Linked DNA regions of Homo sapiens: all the other regions are linked to region 1. Evidence: promoter capture Hi-C in 16 types of primary human blood cells and fetal thymus (Javierre and others, 2016). All regions are on one chromosome and are shown on one strand. The core of a region is centred on a gene start or on the middle of the fragment in contact, and the rest is flanking DNA. Distances in the headings are between cores, read along the strand shown. Region 1 holds the start of SLC24A3 (solute carrier family 24 member 3). Region 2 overlaps SLC24A3 (solute carrier family 24 member 3). Region 3 overlaps SLC24A3 (solute carrier family 24 member 3). Region 4 overlaps SLC24A3 (solute carrier family 24 member 3). Region 5 overlaps SLC24A3 (solute carrier family 24 member 3). Region 6 overlaps SLC24A3 (solute carrier family 24 member 3). Region 7 overlaps SLC24A3 (solute carrier family 24 member 3).

The links. The method cuts DNA at HindIII sites, captures the fragments that hold promoters and counts their contacts. A CHiCAGO score of 5 or more calls a contact.
Region 2: a fragment that was not itself captured here is called in contact with the fragment with the promoter of SLC24A3 in region 1 in 7 of 17 cell types (M2 macrophages, M0 macrophages, M1 macrophages and 4 more); the score reaches 7.8 in M2 macrophages.
Region 3: a contact is called between a fragment that was not itself captured here and the fragment with the promoter of SLC24A3 in region 1, in 12 of 17 cell types (megakaryocytes, M0 macrophages, fetal thymus and 9 more). The highest score is 10.9, in megakaryocytes.
Region 4: a fragment that was not itself captured here is called in contact with the fragment with the promoter of SLC24A3 in region 1 in 3 of 17 cell types (M0 macrophages, megakaryocytes and M1 macrophages); the score reaches 7.8 in M0 macrophages.
Region 5: a contact is called between a fragment that was not itself captured here and the fragment with the promoter of SLC24A3 in region 1, in 5 of 17 cell types (M1 macrophages, M2 macrophages, M0 macrophages and 2 more). The highest score is 11.7, in M1 macrophages.
Region 6: a contact is called between a fragment that was not itself captured here and the fragment with the promoter of SLC24A3 in region 1, in 6 of 17 cell types (M2 macrophages, M0 macrophages, megakaryocytes and 3 more). The highest score is 17.5, in M2 macrophages.
Region 7: a fragment that was not itself captured here is called in contact with the fragment with the promoter of SLC24A3 in region 1 in 4 of 17 cell types (M0 macrophages, M2 macrophages, M1 macrophages and 1 more); the score reaches 7.6 in M0 macrophages.

Annotation. Positions count from the first base shown.
Region 1 is chr20:19,211,043-19,214,359 of GRCh38, forward strand. It overlaps SLC24A3 (solute carrier family 24 member 3), which reads left to right and starts at 1,600. Exons shown (of 17, transcript NM_020689.4): 1 at 1,600-1,942. The coding sequence starts at 1,801. It overlaps LOC101929547 (a long non-coding RNA gene), which reads right to left and starts at 1,426. Exons shown (of 3, transcript XR_007067549.1): 1 at 587-1,426. RefSeq lists a silencer at 1,951-2,000. The HindIII fragment of the contact is 7,870 bases long and covers 1-3,317 here.
Region 2 is chr20:19,677,619-19,680,935 of GRCh38, forward strand. The region is part of intron 9 of SLC24A3 (solute carrier family 24 member 3); the gene reads left to right. Among named protein-coding and RNA genes, the nearest start is that of RIN2, 79 kb to the right of the region's middle. RefSeq lists enhancers at 1-968, 969-1,945. The HindIII fragment of the contact is 4,096 bases long and covers 1-3,317 here.
Region 3 is chr20:19,651,703-19,655,019 of GRCh38, forward strand. SLC24A3 (solute carrier family 24 member 3) reads left to right here. Exons shown (of 17, transcript NM_020689.4): 7 at 2,360-2,434. Among named protein-coding and RNA genes, the nearest start is that of RIN2, 100 kb to the right of the region's middle. The HindIII fragment of the contact is 6,105 bases long and covers 1-3,317 here.
Region 4 is chr20:19,632,704-19,636,020 of GRCh38, forward strand. All of the region lies in intron 6 of SLC24A3 (solute carrier family 24 member 3), which reads left to right. Among named protein-coding and RNA genes, the nearest start is that of RIN2, 120 kb to the right of the region's middle. The HindIII fragment of the contact is 4,252 bases long and covers 1-3,317 here.
Region 5 is chr20:19,613,531-19,616,847 of GRCh38, forward strand. The region is part of intron 6 of SLC24A3 (solute carrier family 24 member 3); the gene reads left to right. Among named protein-coding and RNA genes, the nearest start is that of RIN2, 140 kb to the right of the region's middle. The HindIII fragment of the contact is 451 bases long and covers 1,477-1,927 here.
Region 6 is chr20:19,562,910-19,566,226 of GRCh38, forward strand. All of the region lies in intron 3 of SLC24A3 (solute carrier family 24 member 3), which reads left to right. Among named protein-coding and RNA genes, the nearest start is that of RIN2, 190 kb to the right of the region's middle. The HindIII fragment of the contact is 3,670 bases long and covers 1-3,317 here.
Region 7 is chr20:19,531,933-19,535,249 of GRCh38, forward strand. All of the region lies in intron 3 of SLC24A3 (solute carrier family 24 member 3), which reads left to right. Among named protein-coding and RNA genes, the nearest start is that of RIN2, 220 kb to the right of the region's middle. The HindIII fragment of the contact is 823 bases long and covers 1,380-2,202 here.

The DNA.
Region 1 (3,317 bases), core at 350-2,849:
ATGGCCTTTCTCTGGAAAGGAGGCCACCTATAACCACTTCCTTTGCCCTTTGCTGTGACCTTGCTGTCCCCGGGCGCTGTCAGGGATTGTCTGGGAGGAGGTCGGGGGGGGTAGGTCAGTCACAGGTGGGGACACATTTGAACAGACCTAGACAGGGGAGCCTTATACAGAGGTTCTCTGCTTCCTTCCCACCTCCTTAGGGTATGAAGCTAGATTCCCTGATCTGAATGGATTCCATGGAGACAGTCACCTAGACAGACACCTGGTTTCAGGTGATCCCTTTCTGGACAAGGTCTTTTGTTTTCAGCGCCCCCCCACCCTCCGCCCCAACAATGGCATCTCCTCCTCAGCCCAGCCAGCAGCCCCAGGCTAGCATCTGGGAAGAGTCCAGGGAAGCCCAATGAGGGAGAGTGGGCTGTGTCTGGGATGGCCAGGGATCCCCTCCAAATGGGCACCTGCGGCAGGTCGTGAGTCCAGCCATCTCTAGGGCAGCCCACACCTTCAGCAAGGAGGGGCAGGAGACCTAGAATGGGGGAAATGGGAGGACTAAGATTCTAACGTTGGAGGTAGGGCAGGCTGGTGTTACCTGCACAAGGCCAGAAGCCTCTTCAGGCCGCCTCTCCAGGGACCGTGCCAGCTGTCCCCACTTCGATCAGCCACAGTATTGGACTTGGTCCAGCACGAACAGAAAGCGAAGTGTGAGCCCAAGACAGAGGGGGGAGCCGGACACCCTTATGGAACTAACAGCCTCTGGGGAGGCCTGTTCCAGATCCCGAGTCGGGCGCACAGGGGGATCCCCGCAAGGGGGCAGAGGGAAACCCGGGAGGCCCGCGAGAAGAGGCGAGGCCAGAGGCTGGGCGCGGGCAGCCAAGCGCACTCGCGGCGCCCCGACTCCAGGTAGCACGTAGAGAGGAGGCTGAAGAGCCCCTCGGTTTTCCGAAAGTTTCCAGCGAATCCTTCTTGGTGAAGATCGGCCTCTGGGAGGCAGCGTGTGTGCTTCCCGAGAGGGGGCCCCCTGCGCCGTCCCTCTTCCCCTGGCACAGAAGGGTTGAAGGACTGCACACAGGGATCCCTCCCCAGCCCAGTCTCCTCCCAGCGCGCCCCCTCCCCGCCATGCCGGCCAGCGCCGGGCTGTGTCCCAGGCACTGCCCCCCGCCAACCCTGGCCCGACCAGCCTCGCCGCTGCAGGCTGCCGGGAGCTGCGCTAGCTCATGCTCCCAGCTCGCTCGGTGCTCCCTGTTCGCTCCGGCCCGGCCCCGGCCCCCATCGCGCCGACCATGGAATAGGCGGGCGGCCCCGCGAGGCGCTCCTGCAGCCGGCGAGGCCAGAGCCAGTCCGGGGTGGCTTTGCCAACCGGCGGAGTTGGCCAGCGGCGGGCCCTCCTACCGTCGGTCCTTCCCCGCTCCTCCTCCTCTGCCCCCTCCGCCCCCGCCTCCCGGCCGCCCCCGCCGCCCCCGCCGCGCCGCCGCCCCAGGCCGAGCGCGGGCGCGGAGCGTGGGAGCCATGGCGCGCGAGGAGGAGCGGGACCCCGAGCGCCGGGAGGCGGCGGCGCGGGCGAGCGGCGAGGAGGAGGAGGAGGGAGGGGAGGAGGGACTGGGCGATAGCGACGAGGAGGGCGACGACGAGGAGACGGGCAGCGGCGAGGAGGAGGAAGAGGAGGCGGAGGCGGCGGCCGGGTGGGAGCGCAGCGAGGACGCGCGGCTGCTGCGCGCAGGGCTGCCTCCTGCCGCTGTCCCCGCCGCGGCCGCCCGCGACAGGAGCGGCCGCCGCCCGCCGAGGCCGCCGCCCGGCCGCCCGAGGATGCGGCCGTCCGGCGACGAGGACCGCGCGCGTCGCCGCCGCCGCCGCCGCCGCCGGAGGGACCTTCTGCTGAGCCAGCTCTGCTTCCTGGCCTCGGTGGCGCTGCTGCTCTGGTCGCTGTCGAGCCTGCGAGAGCAGAAGGGTGAGTGCACGCTGCCTGCCCCGAGTGGGCGCTGCGGCTCCGGCGGCTCGGGGCTCCCGGGGCTGGGCGCGGGGCTCCTTCGGGCGGCCCGGCCGGAGCCCCAGGATAAGCGGGCTGGGTTGGCGGGGGGAGTGGGATGCCAGGCACGAGGACTCCCCCTGCCCCACGCAGAGGCATGGAGGTGGGGACCCTGAGCGCCAGCAGCCAGCAGGCTTAGGCGTCTGGCCGCCCTGGGAACATTTACCTGTGCCCGCCTGTGCGCTGCTTACTCGCGAGCTGGAGGTACTGCTGGTGGCGGTGGTGGGGAGTCTTACTCTCCATCAGCCCCCAAGGCCAGGGATAAAGTTGTGGTGGTAGACCCGGCACCTGTGCAGGTGACCACCTGTATACTCCTTGGCTTGCTGAAGGATTCAAGGGGACTGCTTAACACACAGTTGTCCGTATGTTCTCCATCCAGAGAGCAGGCGGGATGGCCCGAGTAGAGAGCTCTTCAACCCCCTTTCAGAACAGGTGCCGGGAACTTCAGGGAGAGAAAAAGTGTTGGCCCTCCAGCTATGGGCTAGTAGGGGACTTGTTCTCCTAAAATGACCACTCACTGGGAAGACAGGGAATTCTTCCTCAGAGGTCCCTTTTGCAGAGCTGCTGCTGTGGAAGAAATGGTTTGCAGTGGACCACGCATCACACTGTCCGCTCCTCTACCGGTGCTCTGCGCAAAGTCTGCCCTTTAACCCACAACTTTTGTCTTGTCTTTGTCCTTGGCCTTTCTTGAGCTGAAATAGATCTTGTGTGCTCCCAACAGTTGTCTGCTGAAACAGCTTCGATCCTGGGATTCAGCTGTCTATAAAATGAAGGAAAAACATGGGAGAATAACTGTTGTAAAATGGTTTTATATCCCGGCCGTGGAAGTGGCACGATTAGTGGGAAAACAGCCATGTAAAGGGTTGTGAGAAAGAAACAAAACAAAACAAAACAAACAAACAAAAAAACAGTTACAAGTATGTGCTGTGGTGTTGAGGTCGACGTAGCTCTAATGCAAGATGTCATGAGGTGCAGAATAAAGACATTTTGATAGTCACCGTAAAATATTTTCAAAGGTGCCATGAATTTAAAAAGGGATCTCCCCCAGCTTGGCTGGTCTCCTGCTTGGTGGGGAAGTGAAACAGGCGTCAGTCTTCATTCAGTCTTAGCAGACCGCTTGACAGACTTCATCATTTATGGTAATAGCAGAGAGTCCGTCTTGGTCTTCAGTGAAGCTGTTCAAGACTCCACGGCTCTCTCCATTGCTCTCCTGGATCTCAGATCCCGTAGCCTTGGGTTCTGACATCAGGAAGGGGGCCGTGCCGGTGTGAGGGAAGCAGAATCTCTCCCAGGGCAG
Region 2 (3,317 bases), core at 230-2,729, 470 kb after region 1:
AAATTCCAGTATACATCTGGACATCTCTAGACACAGCTGGATACTCTTTTAGGATTCTTTTTTTTTTCTTTTTTTTTTTTTTTTTTTTAATTTTCATTTTTATTTTTATTGATCATTCTTGGGTGTTTCTCACAGAGGGGGATTTGGCAGGGTCGTAGGACAATAGTGGAGGGAAGGTCAGCAGATAAACAAGTGAACAAAGGTCTCTGGTTTTCCTAGGGAGAGGACCCTGAGGCCTTCCGCAGTGTTTGCCTCCCTGGGTACTTGAGATTAGGGAGTGGTGATGACTCTTAACGAGCATGCTGCCTTCAAGCATCTGTTTAACAAAGCACATCTTGCACCGCCCTTAATCCATTTAACCCTGAGTGGACACAGCACATGTTTCAGAGAGCACAGGGTTGGGGGGTAAGGTCACAGATCAACAGGATCCCAAGGCAGAAGAATTTTTCTTAGTACAGAACAAAATGAAAAGTCTCCCATGTCTACTTCTTTCTACACAGACACGGCAACCATTCGATTTCTCAATCTTTTCCCCACCTTTCCCCCCTTTCTATTCCACAAAACCGCCATTGTCATCCTGGCCCGTTCTCAATGAGCTGTTGGGCACACCTCCCAGACGGGGTGGTGGCCGGGCAGAGGGGCTCCTCACTTCCCAGTAGGGGCGGCCGGGCAGAGGCACCCCTCACCTCCCAGACGGGGCGGCTGGCCGGGCGGGGGGCTGACCCCCCCCACCTCCCTCCCGGACGGGGCGGCTGGCCGGGCAGAGGGGCTCCTCACTTCCCAGTAGGGACGGCCAGGCAGAGGCGCCCCTCACCTCCCGGACGGGGCGGCTGGCCGGGCGGGGGGCTGACCCCCCACCTCCCTCCCGGACGGGGCGGCTGGCCGGGCGGGGGGCTGACCCCCCAACCTCCCTCCCGGACGGGGCGGCTGGCCGGGCAGAGGGGCTCCTCACTTCCCAGTAGGGGCGGCTGGGCAGAGGCGCCCCTCACCTCCCGGACGGGGCGGCTGGCCCCGGGCGGGGGGCTGACCCTCCACCTCCCTCCCGGACACGGCGGCTGCCGGGCGGAGACGCTCCTCACTTCCCAGACGGGGTGGCTGCCGGGCGGAGGGGCTCCTCATTTCTCAGACGGGGCGGCTGCCGGGCGGAGGGGCTCCTCACTTCTCAGACGGGGCGGTTGCCGGGCGGAGGGTCTCCTCCCTTCTCAGATGGGGCGGCTGGGCAGAGACGCTCCTCACCTCCCAGACGGGGTCGCGGCCGGGCAGAGGCTCTCCTCACATCCGAAACGGAGCGGCGGGGCAAAGGCGCTCCCCACATCTCAGACGATGGGAGGCCGGGCAGAGACGCTCCTCACTTCCTAGATGGGATGGCGGCCGGGCAGAGACGCTCCTCACTTTCCAGACTGGGCAGCCAGGCAGAGGGGCTCCTCACATCCCAGACGATGGGCGGCCAGGCAGAGACGCTCCTCACTTCCTAGACAGGGTGGCGGCCGGGCAGAGGCTGCACTCTGGGCACTTTGGGAGGCCAAGGCAGGCGGCTGGGAGGTGGAGGTTGTAGCAAGCCGAGATCACGCCACTGCACTCCAGCCTGGGCACCATTGAGCACTGAGTGAACCAGACACCGTCTGCAATCCCAGCACCTCCGGAGGCCGAGGCTGGCGGATCACTCGCGGTTAGGAGCTGGAGACCAGCCCGGCCAACACAGCGAAACCCCGTCTCCACCAAAAAAATACGAAAACCAGTCAGGCGTGGCGGCACGCACCTGCAATCGCAGGCACTCCGCAGGCTGAGGCAGGAGAATCAGGCAGGGAGGTTGCAGTGAGCCGAGATGGCAGCAGTACAGTCCAGCTTCGGCTCGGCATCAGAGGGAGACCGTGGAAAGAGACGGAGAGGGAGACCGTGGGGAGAGGGAGACCGTGGGGAGGGGGAGAGGGAGAGGGAGAGGGAGAGGGAGACGGAGACGGAGACCGTGGGGAGAGGGAGAGGGAGAGGGAGACTCACTCTTTTAGGATTCTAAAAGGACTATTTTCTTTAACATAACCACATTATCGTCATACGTAAAATTAATACTAATTCCTTAATATCATAAAATACCTAATGTTCAAATTTTCAGTGGCCTCACAAATGTCTTTTTCATTGTTTTCTTTTAGTTTCATAAATATCATAAATATTTTAAAAATGAGAATTCAAATAAATTCCACTCATTAGAATTGGTGGCCCATGACTTGCTGCTGTGTCTGTATGTGTGTGCATGTGTGTGTGTGCATTTTCCTTGCACTTTGTTCTTTAATGAAGTTTGGCTGTTTGCTCTGCAGAGTTGCCCACGGTTGGAAAGCGTTGATTATATCCCATGATGTGGCACAGTCTGTTCCCTTGGCCTCTGTGTCTGTGTGTTGTCTGTGTGTGTATGTGTGTGCATGACTGGGCATCTGTGTGTGTCTGTGTGCTGTGTGTCTGTGTGTGTGTCTGTATGTGTCTGTGTGTGCGAGTGTGTGTCTGTGTCTGTGTGTGTGTCTGTGTGTGTCTCTGTGTGTGTCTGTGTGTGTCTGTGTGTCTCTGTGTGTCTGTATGTGCATGTGTGTGTGTGTGCATTTTCCTTGCACTTTGTTCTTTGATGAAGTTTGGCTGTTTGCTCTGCAGAGTTGCCCATGGTTGGAAACTGTTGATTATATCCCATGCTGTGGTGCAATCTGTTCCCTTGGCCTATGTGTTTCCTATATGTCTGTAATTGATCTGATTCAGGCTAGACTATGTCCCAAGTGGTGGTAAAGTTCCATCACCAGGAGGCACGGTGAGGTCTGCCTTTCTCTGTCTGTAGTGTTGGCAGCCGTCAGCATTCAGGTTCCATCACCAGGAGGCATGGTGATGTCTGCCTTTCTCTGTCTGTAGTGTTGGCAGCCATCAGTGCTCAGTGTCTGCATCCATTATTTCGTTTGGGTTGCAAAATAGTGGTGTTCTAATTCTACGCTTCGTGTCTTATGAACTACAAATGACACCCGTCACTTTGACTAGTTTTCTGTTCTCTCTCATGCAATGTAGTAACTGCACGTTCCTAGAGAGTACAGGAAAGAACTCATGGATGAGACGGTCCAGCCACAGAGGACCTCTTCGTCTCTCTGAGGTCTTGTTGCCATAGGCCAGCCACCTCAGAGCTGTACCCACTGAAGAATCAGGCACAAAGGAGATAGCTGGGAGGGAATCCAGAGAGCTTCATGTCTGTAGCAGCAAAGAGATGAGGAAAGGGAAGAGAAACATAGGTTGAGTGGCCTTCCAGCTGGCAACTTACGGTCACCATGCCTAACTGCCATGCCTATGGGAGG
Region 3 (3,317 bases), core at 527-3,026, 440 kb after region 1:
ACAAAAAAATTTGCCAGGCGTGGTGGTGGGCGCCTGTAGTCCCAACTACTTGGGAGGCTGAGGCAGGAGAATGGTGTGAACCTGTGAGGCAGAGCTTGCAGTGAGCCAAGATCACGCCACTGCACTCCAGCCTGGGTGACAGAGAGAGACTCCATCTCAAAAAAAAAAAAAAAAATCCATGTCCTTAACTTCTGGAATGGTTTCTGAATTATTTATTTCATCATTTCCTCCCTCTGTGTTCTCTGTTTTCTGGAACTTCAATTCTTCAAATGCTGGATCTCTTATTTTCTATTAAGGTAAAGAATGAGCATTAACTGGGCTGTATGAAGTAAGGAAGGAGGCTTGAGATTAAATTCTTAAACAGTCTTTTGATTGTTCTGTTTTCAGGCCTATCTTTATTCTAACTTTTAGAACATTCCCAATTATTCTTCTGCTTTCCAGCTTCAAAAATTTTGTTGTTCTTATCAGCTCTTCTATTCCTTTTGCATTGTGGGTTTATGTCCTGATCGAAAAAACCCTTTAGTATTATCTTGTTACGGTATAACAAGAACGGTAATGGTATGTACTCAATCTGTCGTCGTTAACTAAAAGTCCAAGTAATGTGTTAAAGAAATTCAAAATTGATATTTGCCACGTTTTAAGCCCATTTGTCTGATTATAATAAAGTGAATAAATACAACCTTTTATGACCTGCTGGAAAATGAACAATTTAGTCCAATTTAATCTATTGCATAAATGGTGAGTGATGACCACAGATTCTAAGAGTTTACAGTACTGAGAGAGAATGAAAAAAGGGTAAAGAATACTTTATATTTATTCTAACATGATTTTTCTGATGTGAATTCTCTTCTTGACAACCCTGTCATGTGTGACTTAGAAATGCAAATGCTTCACCTAATAAGGCAAAATTAGCAACAGGAAATAACTAAGTGTTCATATAGGAAGTGGGGAATGCGTTAATGGAAAGAGACTGGCCTTGTTATTCATTTATGGTCCTATTTAAGTCATGCCTTTCATGTTATTTGCATCCAGAAAACCTCTAGTTTGACTTGGTCTGATCTTTATAGACTTGCACAGCAGTCGGGGAGGGTAGAGGCTCAGGGATTGCATGTCCCTGGGGTCCCTTTTTCCCACTGTGTTTGGTGTAGCATGTGCCTGTCATTGCCACGGCTGAGAGTGTTGACTTGTGCTGTGTCTTTTTTCACTTACTACGCCAAGGGCAAAGGTAGCCAGGCAAACATCCTGTGGCCATGGGGTAGTCGATACTCCTCTAGGGAAGGGAAAGGGACTTGCCAGTGACAACCCTTGGAACAAGGTGTGTGGACTCTCCCAGACTTATTTGTAAGGTCTGCCAAAGTGGACCTACACTGTAAACAGATAAAAATACTAAATATCCCTTAATAAGAGACTTAGAAGAACTTTCCTGGGAGAAATGATTCTTTCTCCAGAACAGAAGCCTCAACCTGACACCCACAGCTCTTTCCCCTCTCCTCAAACTCTCCCGACCACCTCCAGCCCTGGCTCCTCTGCCCTTCTTTGCACCTAGCAGCCCCCTCCTCTTGCAGGGAAAGGCTGCTTTAGCCTCCAGCAATGTGCCTATCAGCTTCGTGTCAGCAGAGCCAGCATCTCTTTAAAAAGGGCTATCTCCAAATGCCAAGAACATTTTCCCCTGGATCAGTATGCAAATCAATCTTTCAAAGATTCTGATTAAACCGAGGTCAAATGCCAGCAAGGCCAGGCATATAATAGAGATGAGGGAAGAAGGTCTGGCAGAGACAGGCTTGTCCACACCCCTTCTGAAGGGCGGCAGCAGCCCAGCACATGTTGCTCACTCCACGGGGCAAGACAGGCTGTAGCAGACGCTAGACTCATGGCAAAGGCACAGGTTAGGATTGCTCCTCCTATCCCCTTGATATTAGGGATGTCAAGGCAGGCCCGTTCCTGGGGGGATGTGAGACTCCTCTGATAGGCAACTTTGCATTGAGGGTTCCCTGGGCCTCACTGCACCTTCCTCAGACTGCGTGCCAGCTAGGACAGTGCACCCAACCATCCCTGTCTCCACGGGGGTCAGACCCGCATCACAGTTGGACAGGCTGCATGCCCAGCTCCCCCGATGCCCCATTTTCTATCACCAGTTGTTTCCCGCTAACAAAATTGTTGCAGGTTTAATTGTATCTTCATGTCTGCCTCTCAGAAGATCCAGACTAATATGCCTAAATACTTGAATAAATTCCGATTGATTGGCAGATTGGGTGCAGGACAGGAGGCCTAGACAGGAAGCTGGCTAAACCTGCAAGAGTCCCGCCATCTCATTTGTACAGTCTATATCCTGTTTGACTTTGTTTCCCTTGTCCTGCAGGTTGTGGCTCTTTCCTCCTGGTGCCTGCTGAGGGATTCTATTTACTACACGCTGTCTGTGATCGCGCTCATCGTGGTGAGTCACTCTGGCCATTTCAGCTCCCATCAGTGCTCTTTTAAGCACCAGGGGTGGTGTGAGGCTCCTCCACATGGAGTTCACTCGAGGTCACCGGTGGCGAGTGCGAGATGCATGTCTTTGCTTGGAGGCAGATTTATTTCTTTCAGCTACTTTGATCACCCAGAACTCCAGCCTGACCAATTGCTGGTCAGAGCCGGCATTTAGACTTGGGTTATCTGGGTCTATGAGAGTCCATGGCTGTTCTCCTGAGACCCTCGTGAGCATGGCTCTTCTGTCGCTTCATTGGCGTCCCTAGCTTTGGACATCACTTCTCCCCCTTCTCACTCTGTATGCTCTGCCAGGACTCCCTGCCCTCCCACAGAGCCCATTACCGTGGCCACCTTTGTGCCAACACCCACACATGTCACTTAGCAGTGACACCTCCCTGAGGTCCAGTGGTGGATAAAGAACTCTCTACTAGACATCTCCATGCCCCAACTCAACATGTCCCTAAATAGAATCCTTTTTTTTTTTTTTTTTTTTTTTTGAGATAGAGTCTCACTCTGTTGCCCAGGCAGGAGTGCAGTGGAGTGATCTTGGCTCACTGCAAGCTCCGCCTCCCGGGTCCCAATGATTCTCCTGCCTCAGCCTGCCAAGTATCTGGGACTACAGGCGTGCACCACCACGGCTGGCTAATTTTTGTATTTTAGTAGAGATGGGGTTTCACCATGTTGGCCAGGTTGGTCTCAAACTCCTGACCTCAAGTGATCTGCCCGTCTCAGCCTCCCAAACTGCTGGGTTTACAGGCATGAGCCACAGCACCCAGTCCCTAAATAGACTTTTGATGTTTTCCCCAGGACTTGCCTTTCTATATATTTCAGTCCTCGTTCCTATCGTAGCC
Region 4 (3,317 bases), core at 532-3,031, 420 kb after region 1:
ATACACCACCACTGAGCTCAGCACAAGGGAAAAAGAACAACTCTGCTGCAGAATAGGTGTCCCTGACAACAGCTCTGGCATGCTGAAAGGCTCTAGGCACCCCGTCCTAGAAAGTCTATTAAACAATGCCAGGCCTGGTCCTCCAACTCTTAGGGCTGTTTGAATTCAAGAACTGGACCATGTAGACTTTGCCTCCTATGCAGAAATTTGCCTTCACAGCGAGTTGTAAGCTCCTACAAGATACGGACAACTTTCCATTTTATTTTTACTACTTGAGAAAAATAGTTTTTTTAATAAAATGCATGTAAGCATGGACTTTTGAGTCATTCAGCTGGCTCCATTGCTGGGCATGTGCAGATTTATCAGTTTACCATGATCTTTGGCTTTCCACATCTGTAAAATGGAGACAACTTTATGTAGCATATTCTTAGTCAGCCAGGGCTGACATAATAAAATACCACAAACTGGGTGGTTTAAATAATGAAAATTTATTTTTTCACATTTCTAAAAGCTAGAAGTTCAAGCTCAATGTATTGGCAGAGTTTACTTCTTCCGAAGCCTTCCTCCTTGCATTGTAGATGGCTGTCTTCTCCCTGTGTCTTCACATGATCTTCACCTTGTACATATCTGTGTCCAAATTCATTCTTATAAGAATGCCAGTCGTGGCCGGGCGCGGTGGCTCACGCCTGTAATCCCAGCACTTTGGGAGGCCGAGGCGGGCGGATCACGAGGTCAGGAGATCGAGACCATCCCGGCTAAACCGGTGAAACCCCGTCTCTACTAAAAATACAAAAAATTAGCCGGGCGTAGTGGCGGGCGCCTGTAGTCCCAGCTACTTGGGAGGCTGAGGCAGGAGAATGGCGTGAACCCGGGAGGCGGAGCTTGCAGTGAGCCGAGATCCCGCCACTGCACTCCAGCCTGGGCGACAGAGCGAGACTCCGTCTCAAAAAAAAAAAAAAAAAAAAAAGAATGCCAGTAGTATTGGATTAGGGTCCACCTAATGACCTCACTTTAAGTTAGTTCCCTCTTTAAAGACTCTATCTCCAAATACAGTCACATTCTGAGGTACTGAGGTTTAGGACCACAACTTATGAATTGGGCTGGGGGAAAGGCACAATTCCCCCCATAACAAGCACCCTTCTTAAGGAGTTGTGTGAGAATTACATTAATTAAAGCATGCAGAGGAAAGTCCCTAGAATGATGCCTGGCAATCATAAATATTCAATAAAATGCTGCTGCTGTTACTGTTTGTAAAGGAAGTTGTCCAACACTCCCTCCCACCTCTTTCTATATCTGCCATAAAATAGTTCACATGTTTATAAGAAAAAAAATTCTTGTGCCTTCCATTTCTTTTCAAGTTCCCTACTCAGCATTTATTTTTATAGGCATGGCCATTCCTAAATACTGAGACATCGCCAGTCAAAGGGGAAGCATTTTCAGCTTGTGCTCCATGGTAGTGGTGTTTATGTGCTATTTAAAGGGAAGCTGCCTATCTCTTTGAAATGCTTATTATCAAAGCATGCCTGAGTCAACTTTTCCAGTGCAGTAATGCTGGCTTTGATTTTCACAGACCACTTTTGATATGATTAGCTCGTTCTCTCCCACTCCTGGGAGCCAGCATCTTCTCATTTACAGATGCTAGTTGCCCAGCGGCCACCAGAAATTCTGCTGGGGAGACTCTAGTTCATTTAAGGAGGAAACAAAGGGCTTTAAAATATATAGATCCAAAGCACTCCTACAGTGTTCATCAAAAGGCTTGTCCCAAAATGTTCATATCAGTTTTAATAATAATAATACCTCAAAACCAGTAACATTCCAAATATCTATCAATAGGGAAATCAATGAACAAATCTAATAGTGCTCAACAATAAAAAAGAGAAAATTATTGATACACATAACTTAAATGAAGCTCAAAAATATGCTGAGTGAAAGAAGCAAGCACAAAAGTATACAGTATGATTCCACTTATATGAAGTTCTAGAACAGTGAAAACTAATCTACAGTGAGAGAAATCCAATCTGTGGTTAGCTGGGTGGGGATAGATGAGGTGATTGACTGGAAGCCGGGGGGGACACTTTTCTGTGTGGTAGAAATGCTCTATGTCTTGACTGAGGTGATGGTTGCAGGGGTATACAACATCTTATATGAATAAATTTCACTGCTTATAAATGATACCGCAAAAATTTTATTTAAAAACCAATCAACAAATAAAACACCATCCAACCAAGATAGAAGAAATTTAATTATCTTCACAGTGCGTATGTTTAGGAAAAAGATATTTGACTACATTTTTCATATTTGTGCATGCTATGTCATAGACACAGCCTATTTCTAACTCACTGATGGCTGTAAAATGTACCCAACTTGAGTAGAGGATCTATCTCTTTCTGTGAAGAATCTCACTGCTGGTTCTCAGAACAGACACTTACCTCCCCTGACTACAAGCTCGTTGAAATAACAGCCTGATACACAAAGGGGAGGGATGAGTCCATCATTGCCCAGATACCAATAATGCATAGCGAGAGTAGTCTAGAGTTTTTAATGAATTTCTAGAGAACAGAAATAAGATGTGGTTGTATTGATCCAGAGTATGGAAATCCTTAAACTAAAACACACACAGGAAAAAGCTGAAGTGGGGATGAGGGACATGAATCCTAGAGGGTCTCTCTGAGCTTAAAGCACAGAATCAGAAAATTTGGTGTGTGAGTAGGTTGATGAAGAAGGAGTAATCAGGGTAATTAATTAAACAAATCTTTGTGCATCAGGTATCTATTGCTGTGTAACTAGCAACCCCAAACTTAGTTATGTAAAACAACCACCACATAATTCTTCTCAGTGATTCTGTGGGCCAAGAATTTGGACAAATCACAGCAGGGATGGCTTGTGTCTGTTCCACTGGAAATACTGGAATAGCTGGAGGTGACGTGAATGACTGGGGCTGGAATCATCTGGAAGATTCTTCACTCACATGTTTGGCACCTGGATTGGGGTGACTCGAAGACTGGGCTCATCTAGGACTATCACCTGGAGCACCTTTGTATGTTCACTCTATGTGGCTTGGGCCTCCTTACATCATGGCAGCCTCAGGTTATCAGATTACTTTCATGGCAGCTTAGGGCTCTGAGAGTAAATGTTCCAGAAAATAAGAAAGATCAGGCCAGGCGCGGTGGCTTACACCTGTAATCCCAGCACTTTGGGAGGCCGAGATGGGTGGATCACAAGGTCAGGAGATCGAGACCATCCTGGCTAACACGGTGAAACCCCGTCTCTGCTAAAAATACAAAAAATTAGCCAGGCGTGGTGGCGGGCGCCTGTGG
Region 5 (3,317 bases), core at 452-2,951, 400 kb after region 1:
CTGCCAAAACAAAATACATCTATTCCCCGTTTTAATCAAATAATCTCAGATCAATTCCTGGGCGTCACTTCCACCTATGATGGAAACCGTTCTCTGCCTCTTGGCCTCAAGACACCTGTTCCTCCTTGGGATGTTCACGCATGGCCAATGTCTCCATTACAGAGTGGGACCCAGACCTGGAGGATATTATTCTCTAGAAGTGTAATGAACAATGCTGAGCATGGAGAGATGCCCACCTCTTCCCCATCACATGAAAAACCTTTTCACCCAGATGAAGGCTTCCTTGGTTTGCGTAGCTGTTGATGCTCACCCTTGACTCATGGGAATGTTTGAACAGCTCCAGTCTCCATGTATTTTTCCCATGCACCACCCTGTTCTATATTAAGATGTGAAATTCTTTGCGTTCAACCCGCTTACACCACCCTTGTTTGTCCTGGCGCAGACTGTTGACATCCTTTTAAATCTTGATTCTCTTATGCGGGGGCTGGCTCTGCCTCCCAGTTGTGTATATCCACAGATCTGATGAGCAGTTTCAACAGTGTGATGAGGGTGGGACAGTTTGCATCTGGAATCTTTAAGAGATTGCAATTGAGAGTGTGATTAAGAGCTTGAGATTTACAGCCAGACTGTTGGGACTAAAATCTATCTTTACCATTTGCTATCTGTATGAAGTTGAGCAAATTAATTAAATTCTCTGTGCCTCAGTTTCCTCAACTGTAAAATGGATTAATAATAATAGCTTTACCTCATGGAGTAATTGCATTAACTAAATGAGTTAATACACTCAGAGTACTTAGAATGGCACCAGCTATATAGAAAGTACTCAGTAAAAATGACCTGTTATTATGCTCTTGGACATGCAATATCTTTCTCCTAGAATGTGCTTCATGCAGGGCTGGGCCCCAGCCCATCCTCTCCTGGAAGCTGTCCCTTAGTGCCACAGGCCCATTGATTCTCCTTCCTCCAGATATTAGTTTTTACCACAGAACCTGGCAAAGATCGCTTTGGATCCCATTCCACCGTTCTTGCCCACTTAGCACATGTTATTCTGGGCCACAAAGATGGACTGTGGGCACTGGAAGAGCAAGTGCCATTGCACAGCAGGTTCTTATTAACCAAAGACGCAGCCCAAATTGTAGCGTTGGGAGAGTGCACTCGGTGACACTGAGGCCTCTGTTGTTGCCATGTGGATTCAAGTTAAAATGCCACTGACTCTACAGCTGCTGTGACTTTGCCTCTTTTCCTAAGTGGATCCTTGACCTGGATCACTCTGCTAAGAACACTAAGACTGGTAATCAATAATGAGGCTGGATTAGAAGGAAGATGAATGATCCACTGGGTTAGCGTTTAACAACCCAAATTGAAATTTGCTGGTGGGACGTGTGTGTGTGGGTATGTGTGCACTGTGATTAGTGAATCTCTTCTGTTTGCTCATCATCCAAACCATAATCTTTTTGTTAAAGCCGTAATCTTTTAAGCTTTAATTTTACAGACTATGTGGTCTTTAGCTTCATCCTTAAACAGATCTGTAAGGGTAAAGCATCTTAACCACCAAGTGGTTTGATTCCTTCTCCCATTGGTTTTGTTGTTATTTGGTTCAGATTTTCTTATGTTTTTGGTGGGGGAAGAGGAGAGTCATTTAAAAATATATATATCATGGAGGGATCAAATCAGAGTCCGGAAGTTGTAAATGAATTAATTAAATGCTGTCACCAGTTGGGTTCTCTGGAAGCAGACACGAAGACAGAGTTTTGAGTGCAAGATATTTTTTAATCAATACCTATGTTAGTCCATTCTCAAATTGCTATAACTAAATAGCTGAGACTGGGTAATTTATAAAGAAAATAGTTTTAATTGGCTCGCATTCTGCAGACTGTACAGGAAACATAATGCTGGCATCTGTTCTGTTTCTGGAGAGGCCTCAGGAAGCTTACAATGGTGACGGAAGGTGAAGGGAAAGCAGGCATATCACACGGCCAGAGCAGGAGCAAGAGAGAGCAAGGCAGGAGGTGCTACACACTTTCAAACAACCAGATCTCTAAAAAATTCACTCACTATCACGAGAACAGCACCAAACGGATGATGCTAAACCATTCATGAGAAATCCACTCCCATGTTCCAATCAGCTACCAGCACCAGAACAAAACAGGCAGAACAAGAGGGGATAGCTTTGCTTGCTGAGTCTTCTGGCTCTTTTATTCTTCCCACACTGGACCCTTGCTTCTGTTCCTCCTGCCCTTGGACATCAGACTCCAGGTTCTTTGGCCTTTGGACTCTGAGACTTGCACCAGTGGCTTCCTGGGGACTCTCAGACCTTTGCCCACAGACTGAAGGCTACACTGTTGGCTTCCCTGCTTTTGAGGCTTTTGGACTCAGACTGAGCCACTACTGGCTTCTCTCTTCCCCAGCTTGCAGACAGCCTATGGTGGGACTTCACCTTGTAATTATCTGAGCCAATTCTCCCTAATAAACTCCTTCTATAGGTACATAGATCCTATTGGTGCTGTCCCTCTGAGACCCCTAACTAATACAATGCCTGTGAAAGGAAAGGAGAGGAAGATGAAGTCAAGCCATGATGCAGGCTCACCAGAGTCCCAGCCAAGCTGACAAAGAGTTCTGGAACAAATATGGTTCATCCTGGAACCAAACTGCCAGGAATGTATACCACTGCCTCTGTGTCAGTGGATGTGGGCCTTCCAGGAAGGGTGTGATGTGGGCGAGGTAGCTCTCTGCAGCTGAGGCTGACCCAGCCCAGTGGAGCCAACAGCTTGAAGCCACCTGATGGCCACATCCCTCTGCAGCTGGACAGCAGATCCTTCCTTGCAGGGAGTTTGTGTGTCACCTCTCCATGCCTGCCACGTGTGCTTTACAGCCCTCTAGACAGAGTCATTCAGGACCTCTGAACACTCACAAACACTTAGGCAGGGGACAACATGTTAGGGGAGGTGGGGTGAGTGCTTGACAATTTTTTAACAAATGCTGTGACCTCCCAGTTCTCAGGCCAACTGTCCATCTGAGACGGCTAACCTAGATCTGCCCACCAATGCTGGGGCCACCCAAACAGTAGGCACTTGGACTATGAATGAAAAGTTTCCATGGTCAAAATCACCCCCAAGAAAATGGGTTCCAGGAAGTGTCTAATCATCTGGAGGACATGGGAAGATCTAGGGGCCATTTAGGAGTTTCGACCAGCAATGATGAGCCACTCCCTTAGGGATGTCAGTAGGCCTCCCACCTCTCATTCCCCTTCTGGGCTCTTCAGCCAAGAGCCCAAACCTGCTTCTGTCCAAGGTGCTACTTAGGCAGCTGAGAACCCC
Region 6 (3,317 bases), core at 291-2,790, 350 kb after region 1:
AGGCAGTTAAAGAAATGGTCCCAACCTGGGAATCTTACTATGGCTTTCAGCAGCTGGGTGCACAAAGCTAGATTGTAGGGTGACCCCCTGAGCACCTTCTCAGGGTGCCAATCTACAATGGGCACTCAAACATCATTATAATAAACTGGAAATATGGTGTTGCTTAACTTGGATCTCCACGTGACAGAAGTTATTATACAACTGAAGACAAATTAATCCGCACAACTGAAGACAAAAAGCCATCCCCTCTACCTGAAGGATCTTTTTTTCTTCTGCTATTGCTAGCCTAAATATGCATATAACATATATCTCATAGGTGCTCACATTGTCCCCGCCAGCTGAGATTTTAAAATTCAACAGTGTGTGGTAGCTACCCAAGTTAAATAAAATGTGTTCACTGTCTAAATATTAAATATTAAAACTTCAAATACACCCACAAGAAGTTGCCTGCTTGAGAAACATACAAAAGAAACTTGAAAGAAAATAACAATGAAAGGAAAATGGGAGATATTTTGCAGAATTGTTTGCAGAATATTGACTATGCTTGTGCCAGGGGAAATGAATTAGTAAGAGGCTTATTTCTATACACACTTTTTTATTAATAGAAGATTAGTTTTCTCCTCCCTCCTCCACAGAATAAATGTTGAATAAATATTTAAAGAATATAGGCTTGAAGAGGCGCCAGATTACGAGCCTGCTGGCGTCCTGTGTCTCAGGCCTATTCTGTTTTTGGAAGTCCTGGTTGCTTGCCCTTGATTGGCCAGCAGTTCCACTGTTTGATGTTATCTGGTAGCAGCAATGTCCATCAGCTCCTGAGTCTGAGTTTGCAGAGAGAACAAGAAAGTGACAGAAAGGCAAGAATGCAAAAATCTTGATAATTTTAACCAGTCTTGTATCTTTTAAAAGCACAATGTTGGGCAATAAACATTGCTGTAACTGGCACGAAAATTCCTACCTTATTGTGATAACCCTCGGAAAGGCTCAGGTTACTAATAAGAACCTTTAGGCAAGAAGTAGGTTTCTTACCAACCTTGAAGTGAAGAGCTCTATCATCTTGTAGACAGTTGAATGAGTTTTGAAATTTCAAAGGCCTCTAGAAAATTTAAATGATCTAATATTTACAGTAGATACCTAGACAGAAGTCATTGTCCTCACTTCTCAAGTAAGCCTGAAGAGGAAGATCCCAGTATTGGCAAACAGGACCTCTAGCCAGCCAGTGTTTACCTGGGATCAGAAGAACTCCCACAGGGTATGGCACTGGGGTTTAGAGGAGTAGTAGGGAGGGAATATCATTGAAAAGTGGGAGAGGGTAAAAGGGAAGAAAGAATCTGATGAACCAGTAGAGGTCACGGGCATTCTGAGCTTCCTCTCATGTTGCTGAAAGCAATCAGGGTTAGATTCATGGGTTCTGGCTTGGATTGGAGTCACACAAACAGGATTGAAGTCCCATCATCAATGCCACCATCATCACTATCATCATCACCAACATCTTTGTCATCGTGATCACCATCTCCTCCTCATCACCATTACCGTGATCAACTTCATCATCCTTGTCTCCACCATCATCATATCACAATCACTATCGTCACCATCATCATCACCACTACTGTCAAAACCTCATTCATTATCACCATCAGATAAGGTTCATCTAGTGGAGTCAGCAGTGATTCCTGTTCAAGACAGATAACCTGAACTTATACATCCAAGTAGCATGGTCCTTCCTAGAATGAACTTTACCTGTTCCTCCAGTCTCATCTGTTTGTGCTCCCTCATACACAATCTACATACTAGCAACAGTGAATAATTTGTAGTTTTCAAGATAAACCACATTAATTTTTGACACCATGCTTTTACTCATTCTGTTCCCTTGCCACTTCCTTCCTAATGGCTAATGCCTGTTCATCTTCTCAGATGTTATGTAGGTATCAATTCTTCCAGATAATCCTACCATATTATCTTCTCACTCTCAGCTCACTGCAACCTTTGCCTCCTGGGTTCAAGCAATTCTCCTGCCTTAGCCTCCCAAGTAGCTGGTATTACAGGCATGCGCCACCCTGCTGGCTAATTTTTGTGTTCAGTAGAGATGGGGTTTCACCATGTTGGCCAGGCTAGTCTTGAACTCCTGACCTCAGGTGATCCACCCACCTTAGTCTTCCAAAGTGCTGGGATTACATCGTGTGCCAACACACCCGGCTTCCATCCTCTCATTCTCTAAGACCTAGGTTAGGTGTCCCTCCTCTGTGGGTTTGTGGAATCCAGTAAGTCTAGGTTTAGCTTTAATTTCAAAGGCTCCGCTTACATATGTAGAAGATATATTGGGGCTCCATTAGATCCACATGAATTCTCTTTCCTTGTTTGTGTGTCTATCCAGCAGCTCTGTGTGCTTTGCTACGAATGTTTCACCCCTACAACCTTCAATGAACTACCTTAGGCTACTAGAGCCACTTCACCAGGAGGCACTGAGAGTGAGAACGACCTGGGAATTTGTGTTCTCGGGGGGTGGGGGGTCAAATAACCAATGATTGATTGGTATAGTAGTAGGAAAGTCCAGCTGCTTTGCCTCAAGTTCTGTGGTGCAATCCACATTCTGTGCAGGTGAGGCTAAGGCTGAGGTGTCACCTGGCATCACACCCCTCATTGGCTGCTGCTTCTTCCTTGTCTTGCCTTTGCCACTACCTTATTGGTCCCCCATTGCATATGGACTCTTATCTGAGGGTCTACTTCTGAGCAACCCAACCAAGACCTCGGAGCCTTTTTCCTTGTATTGATTCCTATCACCTGAGAGCCAATTTCCCTCTCACACTAAATGGCACCTTTAAATGAATGAATGAATGGGATGGTGACCAGACAGGTAGGGAATTCTGCATCTTCAGTGCCTGGAGTCTACTGAGAGTGGAGGCTGTATGATTCAGATCAGGGGCTTTGAAGTCATGTGGCACTAAATTTGGATGAATGCTGACTCTGTAAATCGGGCATCTTTCTTATTTCCTCCAAACATAAGTTTACTCATCTGTGAATCAGAGATTCAGCAGGCCCAACTTCTGTATGTTGGTTATTGGGAAAGTGAAATGAGCTAATGCATATCAAGCACTGAGCCCAGGGCTTGGCCCACTGAAAGCTCATTCATTCATTCATTCGTTTATTCATTCAAATTCCAGAAGGAGTACCAGGTACTGCTCTGGAACTAAGGATACAAAAGTAAACTAAACTGTCCCAAGATCATTCAAGCAACAACCGGGAAGCCAGTGTGCCTGGCACAGAGGCAGCAGCAAGGGAGAAGGATCTGAGAACAGAGTGGCTACTTAGTGTCCATTACT
Region 7 (3,317 bases), core at 541-3,040, 320 kb after region 1:
TCTCCTCCATGTTAGAGGTGAGGAAACTGAGGCACAGAGAAATTAAGCAACTTGCCCAAGGCATGCAGCTCACGAATGGTGGAACTGGGGGTTGACTCCAGGCTATGGGGCTCCAGTGTTCCAGTGGTGGGGAGGGCAGCCCTCTTCCCATGGCAATGGCTTAGAAGGAAGTCCAGCCTTGAGCAGTGGACATGTTGTTTGATCAGTTTTCTCAGCTTTTGATCTAGACGACGGATCTAAGAACAACGTTCCTTGATTCCTGTATGCAGCCAGGGGACCATGGATAGAGACAAGGACTATGGCTCTGCCCTCAGGGCCCAATCAGCCAGCCTCAAGTCAAGCACAAAGCAGGGCTGGATACTTGCGGAAGGCCCCGCAGCCCTCCATGTCCAGACCCCTGAGTGCTTGGGTCTGCCCTCACTGCTCCCTCATCCACAAGGGGCATTGCATCCCCAGGACTGTCTCAGCCTCTGGTGCCCAAGTCCACTGTGGTTCATGGAGTCACCACCACAGTGGGGCCCCATCTTGGAAATGAGCCCGGCTGTCTCTCCTGGAGGAGAATTCCTGGGGTAGCTATGGCAGAGCCTCCCATCAAGCCATTCACCTGAGTTCATCTTCTGGAAAAGGGCAGACAACAGAGGATCAAAACCAAGCATCCGTTTTGCTACCTTTGGCAAGCACTCCTGAGTGTCTGCAGAATGGGGAGCTCAGTGGTAGGTGACACGTTCAGAGCTGAAAGACTCTGCCCATGGAGCACTTGCACCAGACACTGTGCTCGGTGTTCCACACACCGTCTTATTCCACCCTGGCAACCCTCAGAGCTAGGTACCATAGAGACCTGAAAGTCACAGAAGTAGGGTAACTTGCCACAGCTGAAAGATAGGATATTAATTGGTATAAAGAGGTCAGCACAGGCTATTGAGAGAGCACATTGGCAGCCCCCTGATTGGGATGTCATTCAAGATATTTAATAACTGGAGGCAACAGAGACGCTGATCAAGCAGACAGATATCAGCTGTCAACATCCAGTTCAGCCAAACCAACACATATTAGCTGAATTTCAGAACTGCCTGATTCTTCTTGGGCACAGCATGAGCTACCTTTCTGGATATCTACTGCTGCATTACAAAACACCCAGTATTTAATGGATTAAAACAATTTGTTATCAGTCCTGGGTCTATCGGTTGACTGCACTCAGCTGGGTGGCTCCTGCTTCAGGTCTCTCATGCACTTGCAGTCAGACAACAGCTGGAGCTAAAGTCATGTGAATGCTCTATGGGGCTGAACATCCATGATGGCCCCATTCACACAGCTAGTGTCTCTATGCTTCTCCAGGTGGCTTCTCTCTCTAACAGAGGAGGCTGAATGGTTTACGCAGAAGCTTGAATCTCCAAGAGGCAGAAAGCAGGGGCTGCTGGGTATTTCGTGGCTACCCCTGAAACTGGCCCACCATCACTCCCGCATGCCCAGATGTAAGAGGAGTTGCAAGGTCACACTGCAGAAGAGCAGGTGGGATGCAGTGATAATTCCATGGCCGTCTTTGAAAACCATCTGCCACAGCAACCTTAGAAGAAGAGGCAATACCTATGTGGAGCCAGGTGAAGGGGTCAAGGAAGGGTATCCCAGGCAGCGAGACACTATGCAGAGGCAGAGGGGAGAGAGAACACCAAGCACCTGTGCTTATAAATATAGGGCACTCACTGTGGCTGGCATGGTTGGGTCAAGATGGGAGATGGCAAGAGCTTGGGCAGGAGAGAGACTTAGATCTTTGAGGGTCTCCAGTGCCTAAGGAGTTTAGATTTTATCCCAGCAGCATTGAAAGCCATTAAGGGGATTTGATCAAGCAAGGAGTTGACCCAACCATATCTATATCTTGGAAAGATTTTGCTGGCTGTAAGATGGAGTAGATGAAGACAGGTAGACCAGCTGCCTTCCCCCAGCTGTCCCACATCTCAAAAGAAGAGCTACCGGGATAAAGCCTTGTTGTAGCTTTGGCCTTAGCCCTGTCCTGGTTCTTCATTCTCATCTGAGCAACAAGGCTGCATAAAAGAACAGAAGCCCTGGGGCAGTGGTGTTTGCAGGGTTCAGTTGACTCTATCTGTTATGCTCATTTGTCTGAGATTCCGGAAGCCTTTGAATAGCACTTGTGATAATTACAGAATCCCCACATATATTGATGAAAAACAGCTACATAAATAGCAAAGCTTGGTATTTGTGAAGTGCCAGTTTTCTGTAAATATAGAATGTTGGCAGTTACTGCCGTGTGGTTTGTCTACTCTCTGGAGCCAGCACTGGTTTTATTACAGCCCTTTCCAGGGAGGGTTTTATATCCTGCCTACCTGTGGCCAGTCCACTGGCCTCACAGGTACAACTGCAAAAAGCAACAGGCAATCTGAGACCAAGAGAGGCAATCCTCAATCTCTTTTAAGTGTGGAGAGTCCTGTTTGACATCCAAAAAGGCTTTTCTGTTGTTGTTTTTTTGTTTTGTTTTGTTTTGTGACGGAGTCTCGCTCTGTCACCCAGGCTGGAGTGCAGTGGCACGATCTTGGCTCACTGCAACCTCTATCTCCCAGATTCACGTGATCTTCCTGCCTCAGCCTCCTGAGTAGCTGGGATTACAGGCATGTATCACCACGCCTGGCTAATTTGTTCGTATTTTTAGTAGAGACAAGGTTTCCCCATGTTGGTCAGGCTGGTCTCAAGCTCCTGACCTCGTGATCCACCTGCCTCCCAAAGTACTGGAATTACAGGCCTGAGCCACCATGCCTGGCCCCAAAAAGTATTTTTAGCTATTCCTACATCTATGTGTAGAGACCCCTGACTGCTTTAGTAAGTTGAGGCTCCTTAGCAAGTGTATAAGGTACAGATTGGAAACCAAGGCTTATTTGTAGATCTAGACCAGCATTTTCCAAACTGTTTTCTCAGGACACTAGTGAAAGAATGATAGGTATTGTATAGGTATTGTATAGAAAATGAGGATCTCTTAATCAAGTGTTTAAGAAATGCTAACTTACTATGTATTTTCTAAATGCAGGGTTTCTCACAAACTTTAAATATGCTAATTTGGGCCATGATTCTGCACAAAGGAAGTGTAATAGCTGGGTTTTCAAAATTGACCACAGAACTCTTTTTAACAGAGTATTTTACAGGAGTTTGGAAAGAATTCTACTTTGAGTAATGATGACTAACCATCCTCAAGGCTCATTAATTGATCTCAGCTCAGCTCTCAAAGGAGTGATATTGTATCAGTTAGCTTTTGCTGTGTAACAAATGATGCTACATTTTGGTAGCTTAAACCAATGGCTATTTTTTTAACT